2 separate regions of the Homo sapiens genome follow, and region 2 is linked to region 1. Evidence: promoter capture Hi-C in 16 types of primary human blood cells and fetal thymus (Javierre and others, 2016). All regions are on one chromosome and are shown on one strand. Each heading gives the region's core, a stretch centred on a gene start or on the middle of the fragment in contact. The rest is flanking DNA. Distances are from core to core; before and after follow the strand shown.

The links. Contacts are between HindIII fragments. The CHiCAGO score rates a contact against its expected background, and 5 or more counts as called.
Region 2: a fragment that was not itself captured here is called in contact with the fragment with the promoter of SMARCC2 in region 1 in 1 of 17 cell types (M2 macrophages); the score reaches 7.7 in M2 macrophages.

The regions. Positions count from the first base shown.
Region 1 is chr12:56,187,993-56,190,924 of GRCh38, forward strand. SMARCC2 (SWI/SNF related BAF chromatin remodeling complex subunit C2) reads right to left here and starts at 1,491. Exons shown (of 29, transcript NM_001330288.2): 1 at 1,359-1,491. The coding sequence starts at 1,469. It overlaps TRS-CGA4-1 (tRNA-Ser (anticodon CGA) 4-1), which reads left to right and starts at 2,372; the gene lies at 2,372-2,453. LOC107984468 (a long non-coding RNA gene) reads left to right here and starts at 2,700. Exons shown (of 2, transcript XR_007063330.1): 1 at 2,700-2,932. RefSeq lists silencers at 1,228-1,447, 1,518-1,797 and an enhancer at 2,038-2,137. The HindIII fragment of the contact is 5,408 bases long and covers 1-2,932 here.
Region 2 is chr12:55,673,861-55,676,792 of GRCh38, forward strand. No RefSeq gene overlaps it. Among named protein-coding and RNA genes, the nearest start is that of TMT1B, 6.4 kb to the right of the region's middle. The HindIII fragment of the contact is 3,457 bases long and covers 1-2,932 here.

The DNA of each region.
Region 1 (2,932 bases), core at 241-2,740:
TTCCATTCTAATTTGAACCTGAGCCAGGAGACTTTCTTTTTACTTTTTGACCCGTTTTCTCCCCACTCATCACAAAGAAGACAGTGCCTCTCAGTGAGAGGTGAAAAGAGATAGATCTGTGAAGGGAAAGGTAAATGACAAAGAGCTAAGAGCATGGAAGCTGAACCAGGTCACAACTGTCAATTCCCCCAAGGCCGGAGGCTAAGCCCCTAGCCTGATCTCCCTGCAAAAGGTCAAAGGTAGAAGCCTGGGAATAAGAGCCTCTCACAGGCGTAGAGACATGCCATAGAAATAGCAGCTATTTGTCAGGATTCTCACACCCAGAGAGACCCCAAGGGCAGGGCCAGGCTCACAACCAGCATCAGTAGGAAGTTCTCCTAAGCCACTAAGCACACTTCTGACGAGCTGCAAAGCCGGCAGGAAGAACTGGGGAGCTGAAAGAAAGCCATAAAGAGAATCCCTCTCTGAGGGTAGTGAGAAAAAGAGAGGCAGACCATTTCCAGAGAAAACCAGGCCTAGAGACAAAGACGACACCAGGAAGAGGTTTGGTAGAAAAGACAGGTAAGGATTCTTGAACCTTTTGTTCACCACCTTATGATCTCCAGTTATGGGGTTTGGGTGTGAGGGGCTAGAGATAGGAAGCTCACCCTAACCTCTCGACCCCAAACCCAGGGTACTGCAAAGCTAGGTTGCAAGGTGACTTCATTGTAAAATCGAGGAAAGGTTTCGGAAGGGGCCGCTACCCAGGAACTCCTATACCCCGGCTCCCTGAGAGATTCTGTTGCCCCTTAGATGAAGGTGGGGGATGAGCGGCGGAGACAGGTGATCCCTGGGTGGAGACCTTTTTCAGGCTGATGAGCAGCCAACGGCTTGCTCTGTGACTGTTTACCCTCCTGCTTTCCATTCTCTCTCTCTGAACATACACAAAGCACCGGAGAGGCCTCAGCCCCGCTGGTACCTGGCTCCGTGGGGAGCTCTGGCGGGCACGCTCCGGGTTGCGGGGGAGCCCATTGGGCACCCGGTCCACACCCGGCCGGCCGCCTCTCCCAGAAAAGCCAGGAGGGCGATGGCTGAGGGGAAGGTGGGCTAATGGCACCGGGGCCCGCCGGGCAGTAGAGAAAAACAAGGGGCAGAGGGCGCAGCAGTGGGGGCGGGGGCTGGGCTCAGAGGCTGGGGGTGCGGGGAGAGGGAGGCTGGGGGAGGGGCGCGGGAGCGCAGGAGGGCGCGCGGGGGGCTGCTTGGGAGGCCGCGGGGGAGGGGCTGGGGCGCCTGGAGGGTAGGCAGGATCCCGGGGCTGCAGGGCCGCGGTCCCTTTGTCCCGCCCCCGGTCCCCGCGCGGCCCGGCCCGGCCCGCGTACCTTCTTGTAGTTCTTGCCGAGCCACAGCCGCACGTTGTCGAACTGGGTCACGGTGTCCGCGGCCTCGTAGTACTTCACGTTGGGGCCGCCGTCCTTCTTCCGCACCGCCATCTTCTCCGGCTCGGGCCCCGCCGCCGCCCGCCCCACTCAGCTCAGCTCCCGCCTCCTCCGCCTCCTCCTCCGCCCGCCTCCCGCCGCCTCCCGCCGCCGCGGCCGCCGCCTCCCGCCGCCTGGGCCGGCCCCGGTCCGCGCTGCGCCCCCTGCCGGCAGGCCGGGCGCGGCGGCGGAGCTCCAGGCGCGGGCCGACCCTGGCGGCCTCCCCGGCAGCGGAGGCGGGAGCCTCCGGGGAGAAGGACGCTTCCTGGAGGGGGCGCCATTCTCCTGAGATCGCTCTTACCAGACGCGAAGCCCTTTCCCTCTTTTTGCCTCAGCTCGGGAGTGTCACCTCGCTATCCCACTCCAGGCGGCCGCCAGTCGCTGGAGCAGCCCCAACCCGTAGACCCGAGTGGTCCTCACCTTGCGCATTCCTAACCCGACGAAGCCCCTCGTCCCCCAAAACCCCAAACCCCTTTCCCCAAGAAGTTCCTTCCTTCCATCCATTCACAGCAGCTCCCCATTTAAACTTTTCAGAGTCTCCCTCACTCCTCGCGCCTTGTCCACCCAGCACTCCCCTCACTTGTTAACCCAAATGTCCCCTAGTCGCCACCCTGGCGGCCCAGTGCCTTCCCTCAACTGCTTCCTCCGCAGGCCTCGCTGTCGCCTCCTAAGTAGGTGTGAGCTCCTACTCGAGACCCCGACTCTTCGCTAGGCAGGAGACCCTCCCTCCCTGGGTCACCCAGTCCATCCGACTCTTTTTCTTTGGGTGGCGTAGATAGGAGGTAAGGAACCGAGGGGTGGGGAGTCCTCAGGTGTGTGTGTGTCGGGGCCGGTACCCTGCTTCCGGTTCCCGCACGCATTCCCGGATTGCAGTGCGGACCCCTTCTGTAAGCGCGCGATAAAGCGCGGTTTTGGAAGTCACGGTGGCCGAGTGGTTAAGGCGTTGGACTCGAAATCCAATGGGGTTTCCCCGCACAGGTTCGAATCCTGTTCGTGACGGGTTTTTTTTTTTTTTCTTTCTTCTTCTTATTATTAAAAGGGAGTCTCGCTCTGTTGCTCAGGCTGGAGTGCAGTGGCGCGATCTCGGCTCACCGCAACCTCCGCTTCCCGGGTTCAAGCAATTCTCCTGCCTTAGCTTCCCGAGTAGCTGGGACCACAGGCATGCGTCACCATACCTGGCTAATTTTTGTATTTTTAGTAGAGACAGGTTCACCATATTGGCCAGGCTGGTCTCAAACTCCTGACCTCAGGTTATCTGCCCGCCTCGGCCTCCCAAAATGCTGGGATTACAGGCGTCGACTTTTTTAACCCCTTTCACAGCACATAAAGGTAACCCCAGTTCTCACACGTTTCTTTCGTGCACTTTCTCTCTCCAAAAGGGAAGCCGCCAAAAGGTCTTAACCCCTGGATTTGGGAGGATGGGAGTGATCTTGGGAAGTTTAATTATGCACGACTGTATTGGCTGCTAGACTGTGAGG
Region 2 (2,932 bases), core at 109-2,608, 510 kb before region 1:
GAAAGAAGATTGTATAGCTAAAACACAGGGTTAAGGGAGGGTAGCATGAGAGGTGGACAGGGGCCAGATCACACAGGGCCTTATGGGCTACAGTAAGGAGTTCAGATTTTGTACCAAAGATAATGGGAATCCACTAAAAGGTTTTAAGCAGTGGGTGAAAGTGGAGAGACAGTTAATGAGGCCCTTGCAGTGGGCCAGGCAGCGGAGGGTCATGATCTGGTCTAGGGTTATGCCAGTGGAGATGAAAGAAATGCATGAAATTAATGAACTGGGAAATAGAGCTGACAGGACTTGTGAGTAACTTGAAAGTTATATATATATTGGCCGGGCGCGGTGGCTCACACCTGTAATCCCAGCACTTTTGGAGGCCAAGGCAGGCAGATCACGAGGTCAAGAGATCGAGACCATCCTGGTCAACATGGTGAAACCCTGTCTCTACTAAAAATACAAAAATTAGCTGGGTGTGGTGGTGCGTGCCTGTAGTCCCAGCTACTCAGGAGGCTGAGGCAGGAGAATTGCTTGAACCCAGGAGGCGGAGGTTGCAGTGAGCCGAGATCGCCCCACTGCACTCCAGCCTAGCAAAAGAGCGGGACTCTGCCTCAAAAAAAAAGAAAAGAAAAGAAAGTCATATATATGTTATAGAGAGATACAGATGGAGATGAAATGACATGATGTTTGGGATTTGCTTCAAAATGACACACAGGAGAAGGAAGCAGAAAGTAGAAAAGGATGTGGATGGGGAAGGATTGGCTGTGGGTTGATAGTTGTTGGGATGAATGATGTATACATGGGGGTATCTTATACTGTTCTGCCAACTTTTGTGTATATTCAAAATTCTCCATTATACAAAGTTAGAAATGAGAAAAGAAAAGGAGGAGACAGAGAAGAAATAGAATAAATCCTAGGTTTTTGGTTGAGCAATCAAGAAGCTAATGGTGCCATTCACTGAGATGATGAAGAAGATGGGCAGAGTAAGACAAGAGACTTGGGGAGTACCGTAAGTGTCATTTTGGACATGTTAAGTTTTATATGTCCAGAAGATATGCTGAGGAGGAGGATCAAGTACACAACTGGGTATACAAATTTGAAACTCAAAGGAAGGATCTGCACTAAAGATATAAATGTGTGAATAATTTGCATATACATGGCATTTTAAACCATGAAAATGGATGGGATTTGGTGAAAATTATGTGTCAATGTAGGTTCATCAATTGTAATAAATGTCCACTCTGGTGGGGGATACTGATAATGAGGAAGGCTAGTCATGTGTGAGGACAAAGGGTATGTGGAAAATCTCTGTACTTTCCTCAACTTTTCTATGAAGCTAAAACTGCTCTAAAAAATAAAGTCTATATTAAAAAAAAAAAGATGAGGTTATTTAATGAGAGAATTTAGACAGAGAAAGACCCAAGACTAAACCCAAAGAAACAAAATTTAAAGGTCGAGTAGATGAGAAAGATCTAAAAAAAGAAGTTTCTAAGAAGTAACAGCCACGGGAATGTTATAGAAACAAGAAGACTGTTATGTTAGGACAGCCTAGATGAGAGAATTTTTCAAGAAGAAATAGTAGCCAACTATTTCTGAAGCTGTTGAAAAGTCAGATAAGATGAGAACAGGGAATATTCACTGGACCTGGCATGTGGAAATAATTAATAGGCTTGATAATAATAGTTTCGGGTTTCTTTGTTTTGTTTTGTTTTGTTTTTAGAGACAGGGTCTCTCTCTGTCTCCCAGGCTGGAGTACACTGACCCAGTCATGGTTCACTGTAACCCTGAACTTGCAGGCTCAAGCAATCCCCTTGCCTCTGCCTCCTAAGTAGCTGGGGCTACAGGCGCATGCCACCACACCCGGCTAATTGGCTAATTTTTTTATTTTTTGTAGAGAAAAACAACAGCCTATGTTGCCCAAGCTGGTCTCAAACTCCTGGGCTCAAGCAGTCATTTCCTCTCGGCCTCCCAAAGTACTTGGATTACAGGCACGAGCCACCACGCCCGCCCAAAGTCATAATTCTTGAGTCATCTGCTCGTGTTATCTTGGTTTCCTCACCTTCCATTCACTCTTTCTCCCACTCCAATCCATCACTAATAAAAATTTCTTGGGCTTGGCACAGTAGCTCACGCCTGTAATCCCAGCACTTTGGGAGACCAAGACAGGAGGATGGCTTGAGGCCAGGAGTTCAAGATCAGCCTGGGCAACCCTGAGAGATACCCTGTCTCTACAAAAATTTTTAAAAGTTAGTAGGCATGGTGGTATGCACCTATAGTCCTAGCTACTCAAGAGGCTGAAGCAGGAAGGGCAGCACAACCCCAGGAGTTTGAGGCTGCAGTGAGTCAGAATGGTGCACTCCAGCCTAGGCAACAGAGCAAGATCCTGCCAAAAAAAAAAGACTTTGACATAGATTTGTAAAATGGAGTTTTAGCTAAAGTGACATGTGGTGTCAAGAGGGTCAGTTTATTATTAACCTGAAATATATTAGAGCATATTCATATTTTGAAAGATCCATGGAAAGGCAGAGATTAATGATTTAGGAGAAAGAAAGATAAAATGAAGACAAGAATTCATAGCAGCATTGTTTATAGTACCCCAAAAGTGGAAACAACCCAAATGTCTATCAACTGTTGAATAAATAAACAAAATGTGGCATATCTGTACAATGCAATGCTACTTGGACGTAAAAGGAATGAAGTATTGATACATGCTACAACATGTGTAAACTTTGGAAGCATTATGCTGTGTGAAAAGCCAGTCACATAGGCCACATGTAGTATGATTCCAATTACATGAAATGTCAAGAATAAGTAAATCCATACAGACATAAGTAGAGTAGTGATTGCCTACGGAAAGGAAATTGATGGTACTGGGGTTGGGATGGGGATGGGGGAAATGGGAGTAAGTGGTAAAAGCACAAGTTTCTTTTGGGGTAACGAAAAT